Regions from separate parts of the Homo sapiens genome. Here region 2 is linked to region 1. The links are contacts of gene promoters, found by promoter capture Hi-C in blood cells and fetal thymus (Javierre and others, 2016). All regions are on one chromosome and are shown on one strand. The core of a region is centred on a gene start or on the middle of the fragment in contact, and the rest is flanking DNA. Distances in the headings are between cores, read along the strand shown. Region 1 holds the start of TMEM215 (transmembrane protein 215). Region 2 has its middle 200 kb from the start of ACO1.

Region 1 (4,947 bases), core at 2,059-4,558:
TAGATTACTTTGAGTTATACCAACATTTTAAGTTTTCTCCTCAAAAATATTTTACTCTGATTATGTTCATTTTATTCTCAGGAATGCATTGTGTTGAATAATCTGCTTTCATACATCTACAAAATTCTTTTTTGAGTAGTAGCTGTGCAATGTATGTCACATAATTATCATAAATTTCATAACTTTGGCATGCATTTTGCTGTAACTCATTTCCTGGCAATATATAAAATGCCTTTGACATAACACCATAGAATATTTACACTGAAAATGAATGATAGAAATAATCAAGTGTAAATCAGTTCCCCCTCCCTTCACAGAGTAGGAAACTCAGGTGTAAGAAGATAAAATTTGCCCAAGATCATGCATCTCATTTCTGATATTTAAGCCCTACTAAAATAATTACATATTTTTGATCTTGAACTTGACTTGAAAATTATGATTTTTTAAAAATACCATGATTCTTAAGACAGAACAATTGCTATACTTAAGAAAGAATTGCAGAGTTGGAATTGAAATACACAAAACATATATGCCCAAATTTTTGTCCTCAATTCCCCTTTTGGGAGAAAGTGACTAAGACTATATGATCACTTAAAATGATCATTCTTTGAAGGATACAAAATACTTCTGATCTTCAAGATGAACTCTATCACCATTCCTATATATAATTCATATTTTTCTTCACCGGGGATCAAATGGCATTCTGCTTGATAGCCTTCTTATCTATTGCAGTTGAGCAAGTGAAATAGAAAGCACATTTTAGGATATCATTGTGATTTGTTGTTTTCCTCAGCAGCAAAAATGTATGAAATAAAGAGACTTTTATCATGTAATGTTCACTGATCAGGTGAGCTTAATAAAATCTAGGCTTCAGTTAAATTTAGTAGATGAGTTCTTGTTTCACTGGCATTTACAGTCTGTGAGAGGAGTTGAACAAATGTACAAATAATGACACTTCCAAAGGTTTAACCATTGCATTTCATACAAATTATGTGCAATGTTCAAGGCTAATGTGTAGACTTTATAGTTTTCAGATTTTAAAAGGTATGTAGGAATGGTAATTATCAGTACATGTCTGCCAATGTTAAAGACTTGGATATATATGTAAAATTCATTTTGTCTTGATGAAAACAAATTCCAATCTATGAAAGTATCATTTCAAATAATGTTGCACCTGGTAAGGAAATAATACATGAATGATAGTAAATGTTTAGAAAAAACCCATTTCAGATAAAGATGCAATAAATGGATTTAAACGAAGAGTTTAAGAAGTAACATAGCCATCTAAAAATGTTAACTTTTCACATAGCTGCTCACACTTATTTTACTTTATTAGAGACCATGATCTTGTCAGACAATAATGCCACAAGACTCAGTTACATAATCCAACTCTCTTTAACTACCCTTTTCCCAAAAACCATCCCATCTAAGGAGGGTTTAACTCTTGTATCTTGATTTTTTTTTCTTTCAGCAAATACCAAGTGTGATAAGCTTTTAACCAGGCAAAAATTACTTTATATAACGGATCATTAATTTTATTTTCAACTTATTCAAACATAAAGCAGCTCAGTTTCCCTGTGGTCAGCTCATGCATCATTTGATGCCTCACATCTGCAGCCCACTCTAGATTTATCTTGCTCTCAGCTGGTTCTGGATAGCACTTTTTGGGTTATTTTACAAAACATTTAACATTGTGTAAATTGTTAAGAAGCAACTGGAGTAGCTTCCTTTCCTACCCACTGCCTCTTCCAGTGTCCTTAACCCTCATCGCCCTTCCCTAAAATGTGTCCCCAACATGCCTATTTACATGACTCTCGGGTACCAGAGGTTATCACACCCATCACATACCAGGTCAATTTCTAACAGTGTGAAGGCTCTCCAAGCAGAGCAATTTGCTTCCACGGGGAGCTGGGCTTAGTCATATTCTATCAATCCAGCCACCTTTGTAGGCAGAGATTAGACGATGGTCTCGTGGTCCCACCTGCCTTGTATCTGATTGATATAACAACAGTATCTGTCATACGGGCTGTTCTGCTTGTAGGAGCAAACGATGATACTGTCCTGGGGCACAAAGAAGATGCTATCCTCAGGCTCAGGGCACTCAGATCTGTCCCTTGCTGAGCACTTGACGTCCAAGGCACTGTAGGTGAGGGAACTGCCCGAGGGGCAGTAGCCGTCCAGGTATCTGGACGTCTCCTCCTGATGCCCATTCTGGACGAGGCTCTGGCATTCTCCTTCCTCCGTGGGTGTGGGGCTGTTGATGGAGCTGGCCACGGACACCTCACCCTGGCTTTGTGGGGGAGGCTTCCCCCTGAGGCCCGCCTTCTTAGCCAGCTCATCTGAGCTCCCCTTGCCGGATTCTAGGTCTGAAGGGGTCCTCAGCAGCTCTACCACCTCCTTGTCTTTGGGTTTCCGGAAGCAGGGCAATTTGCGGACCCACAGCAGCTCGTTCTCTGGCCACTTGGTGCATCCCTCGGTTTTCCTGGCCAGGGCAATGGCTGCGATGCCTGGTAGGCAGATGGCTGGCCCGATGGCCAGGAGGGGGATGTTTCCCAAAGTCTCCCCTTTCATCCCAGAGACGGTGAACATGAAACCAAAGACGAGGAAGACACTGACCAGGGCCACCACCAGCCCAGTCCTCGGGTTAATGTCATCAGGCCGCATGTTTCACTCCATCCAGGTTGGGGGCTGCTTGCTGACCAGGGAGCAGCGTTCCTCTATTCTGTCAGAGATGAAACCACAGTGCGTTAAAAAAAAATCCAAGTCAAGCTCCCACCCATCAACTCTTGTCTTTCTCTTGCCCTTTGTCTCCGACTTGCTTCTTGACTTTCAGTCTTGATCTCTGTCTCTGTATCTCTCTTGCAATCTCTCTATCTCTCTCTCTGCGTTTCTCTTGCAATCTCTCCCTGTTTCTATTTCTACTCTTTCTCTCCGTCCCCTCTCCCTCCCTCCCTTTCTTGTGCCCTCCCTCTCTTCCTCTCACTATTGCAACCTCCGTCTCTCTCTCATATCAACACGCTCCGGCTGGGGTCAACGAGGTACCTGAGGTTTCCTGCCCTCTCCAGGAAGTAGGGAAAGAAGCCAGGCTGTCTCCTCAGAAGCCCCCACAGCAGCTGCCCCCTCGGCTCGCTCCCTTGGTTCTGGGAGGAAAGCCTGGTTTCCCCCACGGACTCTGCATCGGGGAGGTGGAACCTGGGAGAGCGGCTCTCCCAGCAGTGCCCGTCGGTCCCGGTGCTGTGCAAGCGGAGCCCGGCGCCAGCTCAGCGCGCAGAGCGCGGGGCGCGGGAGGAGGAGGGAGCACTGAGTCTGGGAAAGAGGGGACGCGGCGCGAGCCTGGCCTTGTTACATCACTGTCAGAGCAGGCTCAGAAACGCAGACAGACGCGCGGGGGCGCGAGGGGGTCAGCCCCAGAGGGAGGCCACCCGGCGGCAGGCGCTGCCCGGGGTCTCGTCGGGGCTGCTGGGAGCGGCCGGGGTTTGTGCCGCCGCCGTTCCGGAGGCTGAGCAGGGCGACCTGACCCGCTTCCGTGCCCGGGAAGGGTCTGGGGCGCGAGGCTGCCAGTGGCCGGAGTCGGAAACCAGGGTCGGTTTGCCCACGGGGCAGCCGTTGCAATATCCGAGCTCGGGCTCCCAGTCCGGGATCCGAGGAGTTAGGTGCCAGCTGGAGATGTCCCTCCGGGACCCGCACCCTTCTCCAGTTACAAATCCGGGTGACTGACGGCAGGCCCAGGGGCTCCCCGACCGCCCTTCTCTCAACCCCTCGACTCGGGGCGCGGGGGGGTGTGTGTCCCTCGGGGAGCCGGTGCCCGAGGACTGCTTTGGTCCCGGCTCTGGGCGGTGGCGGCGCGCGAAAGCGCTCTTGCAGCGGAGCGACTGCGCCGCGGGAGCGCACAGAACCAGCGCCCAGGCGGAGTGGGTTAGTGGTGAGGGGTGGGTGCCAGGCTAGTCCGGGCCTTGGGGGAGTCCCCGGAGTCCCCGTGGCTTTCCAGCTCCAGGCTCGGGAGAGGGTGACCTTGGAGCCGGGATTTCACTTCTACAGCGCTGTGGTGCCGGGGGGACAGGGAGAAGGGCTCCCTGGCCCCCAGTTCACGAGGAGAAGGGGCCTTGACCGGTCAGGACCACCACCCTACGACGCCGCTCAGCTCTGGGCGATTCTCTCCTCCCTTGCTGAAGCAGGCATTGAGAGCCTGCGTTCCTCCCGCTCTGGTAGGCAGGGGCAGATGGATTCCTCTGGCCCCGGGGGGCAAGACTGGCTTTGGCTGTGATTCTTCAACAGGGCTGCCCATTTAGGATAGAGGAGGGCGGTGGAGAACAGGTTGATGAGCGGTACATGCTTTCATGTCAAGACACTGATTTACTGGAAAGAATTTTCACATCCAGGCCTTCCCCAGTTAAACTAGCTGTATATTCCTGGGCAAGTGACTTAACCTCTCTGAGAATCAGTCGTCCTATCTGTAAAATGAGATTAATACCAAATATATGAGGAAACATTGTGAGGATTAAATAAACGTAAAGTTCCTAGCACAATGCTTGGTACATAGTCTGTGTACAAAAATTACACACACATGCACACACGTACACATGTATATGTATATATATTTGTCATCATAATTAGTGTCTTCATCATGTATGACAGGAGCCAAACAAATCATAAAGGCTGTGAGACTAAGGACTTTTTATCCACTAGGCAATGAAGAACGCTTGATGTATTTTAAGCAAAGATCAATACAAAAACATTCCAGTTTGACTGAAAGGGGCGGCAGGTGAGAGCATAGGTTGGAGCTGGTAAGTCTGGAAGCCGGGAGTCTTGTTCAGTAAGCTGAGAAGTTCAGTAAGCCGGGCAAGACATGATGTGGCCTTAACAATGTCGGGCTGGTAGAGGAGTTGGAAGGAAGCAGATCTGAGGGTATTTAAGGGTTGAGTGAAGTGTCTTGGAGCACAGTGAAGT
Region 2 (5,342 bases), core at 1,850-4,349, 600 kb after region 1:
ATCTTCCAAATGCAAATGATAGTGGCTAGCTCCCGAGCTACAGCAAGCTCTGAATAAATAGCTTTTGCTTATTCTCATGCGAGTAGTCTTCTTTTACTTCCACACATTCATGGGAAACTATTTCTAATATCTACTTTGGTATTTATAATAATAAGCTACTAATATCATCAATAAAACCCCACTTCTAACATTCATTTTGTCAATTGGCATAGTTTGTGGTATAGCAGGAGACACAGAAAACTGAGGTATTTGTGACAATTATATCTGCAATATGGTCTTTCTGATTAAATGGTAGCTGACGATACCTAGAGTGTAAATTGATCAGGGGAACTGATTTCCTTAATTATCTTAATTTCTTTAATTCCCTTGTCCTCCTTAATTCATCAATAACATCTGATGAATGTACCTCTAAAACATACCTCAGTTCCTTACACTTATTTTTATCTCTCACTGCTAGTATCCTGTCCACATCACCATTCTCTCTTGCTTAGACTAAAGCAATCACCTCCTTACTGGATGTTTCTCTTTCTATTGCTCATATATATCTAATCTCCACAGAGAAGCCAGAGGAATCTTTAAAAAATATGTATCAGTTCATGTTAGTCCCCTGTTTAAAACTCTCAAATGGCTTTCCTTTCTACCTAGAATAATCTTGTTTTGGTCTTCTATCTCCTACTTAGAATAGCTTGCCCTGCTCTCTCTCTCTCTCTTTCTCTGATATTTTATTCTTCCCTTCACACACTAGTCGAAGGTCTCTCTGTCCATTCTGTTTCTTACACATGCCGAAATTTTTCTATCTGAAGACACTTACACTTGATCATGACACAATTCTTAGGATCATCATTGACTTCTCTCTTTCTTTCATACCCCATATTGATTCCATTCATAAATGTTATTAACCCTACTTTCAGAATGCATCCAGCCTCTAACCATTCTTAAACCATCCATCCTACCACCTGGTCCATGCCAGCATCCTCTTTTGCCTTGATTATTGTCATAGATTCCTGTCTAGTCTTTCTCCCTACAGTCTCTTCTCAACAGAGTAGCCAGTCAACTTGTTAAACAAAATTCCAGCTATGTCATTCTTGGCTCTAAAATATCTCATCTTGTTATCTTTTGCTCAGAACCCCCCCACTTCACTCACAGTAAAATTCAATTGCCTATAATGCCCACAGCTCCCTGCACCCCAGTCTCATCTCCCTGCTACCCATTTTCACTTGATCCAAATGGGCCTTATTGGGGTTCCTTTAACATGCTAGTCACCCCTTGTCTCTCAGAACATTTGCACATGCAGTATTATCTGCCTGGAATGTTCTTCCCCCAAATATTTCCATAGTTTGCTTAGGAATTCTTTCAAGTCTCTGCTCAAATGTCTCCAAATAAATGTGACCTTCTCTGACCACCCTATCTAAAACAACCCCTCCTCTCATCATCTTACACCCAGTATTCCCTGGCTCCCTAACACTACTTCTATCCCTTACTCTGCTTTATTTTGCTTCGTAGAACTTTCACTTTTTAACACATAATATTTTTACCTATTTATTCTGGTAGTCAAGAAATCAACCAAGGCTTTTACAATTCTGTGACGTACAAACAGAACTGTAGAGTAGAAAATTCTGAGAAATAAAGGGCAGTGAAGATTAGAGCTGAGTGCCCACTGTAGGGAACTATCTCATATCAAAGAGAATCATTCAAAAATCAGTGCAAGCATGGGTGCTGTGGTTTGTTTGAATAATTTAGGCAGCTCTGCAACCAATGCACCAGAGGTGGGTAATTTTCTGCTCTATTTTTCCAGAACATGAGATGAAGCTATCACTGACATTATTCCCACTTTCAAAAATGTTCATGAAAAGGCAAATCTGAGATAAGTGGCACAAAAACAAGCTTGTGGTATTCACTTCAGGTATTGCTGAGCTATTTAAATGAGAACAAGCAATTTGGTTCTCTCATCTGGAGTATTTTACTGAAAGTAGAATGTGAAATTTTATGTTTTGTTTTTAAAAGTCTTTTGGTTTCTCTGATTTGATTTTTTTTCTGCTTTGCTGAAAAAAATAAAGCTTGCTTAACTTATTCTGTATTTTTTTAAATGTCCAAATAGATTTAATGTTGTGATAATAACTCCAGCTAAAATTAAACTGAGCTAATTTTAAAGTCACATAAAATTTTTTCTAATATCTTTAGCTAGAGAGATTTAAATACACATATTTTCTGGTAAAAGAGGAGTCTGTGTTAAAAATATATTTCTGGTGATAAACATTGATGGGAGTTGAAAATGCAAGCCTTATTTTAACCCTCCACTCAGAAATTTCATACACATCCCACAGGAAAACCAAATGAAAGAGAGGCAAAATCTCCTTGCAACAGATGAAGAGTAGTTTTTCCCCATCAAGTCTGAGGGGCTCAACTTCATATCCTTCCCACTCCTGGAAATGTTACAGAGTACTTTCATAAACCTAATGTCATTTTATCCTCTGAAAATTCTATGGAATTGACAAGATAGCTATTTTCGTCCCTATTTTATAGTAAAAAAATGATATAATGTGATATAATATCACATTATATCACAGATATCATGTGATTAAATGACTTTGATAAAATCACATCTCTAGTAGGAATGTATCCATTTAGCAGAAAATAGCCATATAGTCCCACTTCATACTGAAGACTTAATTGCTCAACTTCACATAAAAGTGGAGTGCCCTCTCTCCAGAAAACCTTAGCAGGATCATTGATGTTCATAATTAGATTTTATGGAATGGCAGAGGAATTATGAAATGGGGTCACCATCCTGAGGGCCCTTACATATGCAAATAATTCACCAGAAACATGAACGAGAAATACTCAATCATCTAACATTTGTGCTTTGAAACATGTCCTTGAAGGAGAAGAGATCAAGTTACGCACTTGTTTAGATGGCAGGTGGACCATACTTTTGGAACTTATACTAGGAAGGCCTCAGTTGACTGTAACATCAAGCTGCCATCTCCAAATGGAATCAAGAGCTGTAGACCAATGGTCATGATTTTAATTCTTGGTGCTCTCACTACACTTCTACATATTTCTGTAGAATAACTAAGTGTAAAGTGCTTTCAAATAAAAATAGCTATATATAGTCAGGATACCGGGAAATCTAAATTTACTTGAAAGAAGAAATAGAAGTTTGAATCTTCACTGTCTACTTCTAAAAATAAAAGAAAATTTGATGAGCCAGCCTCATTCTGTGTACTATTTTAGAAAAAGAACAAACACAGAGGAACCTCAGTAGTGTCAGCTGTCATCATCAAGTTCAGACTTGAGTGTTTTTTTTCCAGGTTCTGCCAAAAACCCAGCTGGGAGAAGTGGTACTACATGACCTATGCTATTCTATCTCCTTTAGATACTTCAGATTCTATCCCTAAACAGGCTTAACCACTAAACAGTAGAAAACTGTTGTTATGCTCCTTAGTACATAGTTTCACTTGTTTTAATGTTTTCTGTAATACTTTATCAAATACTAGTAACAGCAGCAGCAACAACAAAAATCCAAAACGGCCGTATGGAATTTCTGGCTCCAACATTCTGGTGTTTACTCATGGTATATCTTTAGTACCTTCGACAGTGCTGCACAGACGTTAGCTGTTCAGCAAATACTTGTTGAGTAAAGGCTACTTTAAGGGATTGATTTTTATCCTAAGCTCATTAAAATGCGATTGAAAGGTTTTCATGGGAGAAGCGACATGATTAGAATTGCATTTTATTACATTTACTCTTTCAGCTACCTGTGAAACGGATTAGAAAAACACAAGTAAAGAATTAAAAAAAAATTATTAAAAATATTGTTGATAACAGCGATTCTTGTTTTAAGACAACAATCTTACTAATGTGTATAACACTGTAGGCTTTTTACTTAAATGTATACTTTTTATTACCATGGGGAGAATTCCCTCATCTTATTTTAGTTGTTTTAGACTGGACATTTAAACAGGTCATTAAATGCTGTCAAACCTTTTCCTGAGAAGATACTTTGAAGGTAAATAATTGAATAGATGAAAAAAAATGAGGAAAAAAGAAAATAAACGGTATGAAAGAAAAGGAGACTGAATGCACCCAAAGTATGGTTCTACAAGTTTATTAATGGCTGGCCATACATACCTAAGCTTAACTGCAGAGGCAGTCCTCATTTTTGTTTACCCAGGGATACAAAAACCTCATTAATAGTTGGACATCAATACATGTTTGTAGAATTAGCTACTTAGTTAAGTCATTCTTATATTTTCCAAAAGTTCTTATATTCCATAAAGGAAGCTATACTGGAAATATTTTACTTTTATTCCTTTCTCCTGCCTTCTCTATTGGAGCAGAGATACCTATGAGGCTCAAGGAGGTGTGGATTTTTTTCTTTCTTTCTTTCTTTTTTTTTTTTTTGTGGGGAGGGAGGGTAATAAAGCAATAAATACAGTGAAATGGTCTTTTCCTCTTCCTATCGTGGAATTGATTTTGTTTTCCTAGGTTCATTTTTAGTGTAACTTTATATACTCTCCTAGGCTGGAAAGAAATCAACTCTGAAGTTTGAAACGCACACATTCCATGATGGTTTCCTTAAGAAGACTGAGAAAGAGTTTGCCTGCATATAAATTCATGTTTGCAGGCAAAGGCAGAGGAGAATGTAGCCTACACTTCTGTCCTGTTGTCACTTAGGTGGCTCATTTGCACTGATAATAGCCAAAACTGGCTTATTAATCCCTCAGACATTTGTCTGGCAATAGAATTGTTCCTCTCTAATTAGGACCATGCACAAAATCAGACAAGAAGTGCCTCAGGCTATCATTCAACACTCTATCACAGCCAGACCATCCAGCAAAAACCTTCAGAAATGCTCTCCATCTCCTTCACATGCAAAGTATCTGCAGCTAAGTTAAGATGCTAATGACTACGCTGATGACTCCAGCATGAAGATGTTGGAGTGCCACTGAGAAGGAAATGTTTCTCCACTGCCAAAACTATTTAGAATATTTCAAACAACTAGACATTTTATTTCTGTGAGGTCTCCTGCTCCACAGGTTTTGAGTATAGAAAGATAAATTTTATTTTTTCATCACTGAAGTCTGTAATTGTGATGGGTCAGATATGAAAATGGGGTGTTCTAAATGTCATTTCAATATCGTTCCTCTAGCTACATCAAAAAAGAAGTTGAGTGGACCTCTTCACCTCATCAGGACACCGCCCGGGAGAGGAGGTTCCAATATTCTGTTTAGGTCCTTGGCCTCCTTATTAGCCCTTCGTCCCTGCTGTCTTTAGTTACTCTCCTGTTATGGATCATCTGTTTTCACAAAGATATGCCTTACTACAAAGTACTTTCCTTC

The links. Contacts are between HindIII fragments. The CHiCAGO score rates a contact against its expected background, and 5 or more counts as called.
Region 2: a contact is called between a fragment that was not itself captured here and the fragment with the promoter of TMEM215 in region 1, in 1 of 17 cell types (non-activated CD4 T cells). The highest score is 5.2, in non-activated CD4 T cells.

What each region holds. Positions count from the first base shown.
Region 1 is chr9:32,781,901-32,786,847 of GRCh38, reverse strand. TMEM215 (transmembrane protein 215) reads right to left here and starts at 3,308. Exons shown (of 2, transcript NM_212558.3): 1 at 3,043-3,308; 2 at 1-2,722. The coding sequence starts at 2,664. The coding sequence ends at 1,957. It overlaps LOC105376017 (a long non-coding RNA gene), which reads left to right and starts at 3,942. Exons shown (of 7, transcript XR_929559.2): 1 at 3,942-4,205. The HindIII fragment of the contact is 4,873 bases long and covers 1,494-4,947 here.
Region 2 is chr9:32,178,742-32,184,083 of GRCh38, reverse strand. No RefSeq gene overlaps it. Among named protein-coding and RNA genes, the nearest start is that of ACO1, 200 kb to the left of the region's middle. The HindIII fragment of the contact is 2,079 bases long and covers 2,060-4,138 here.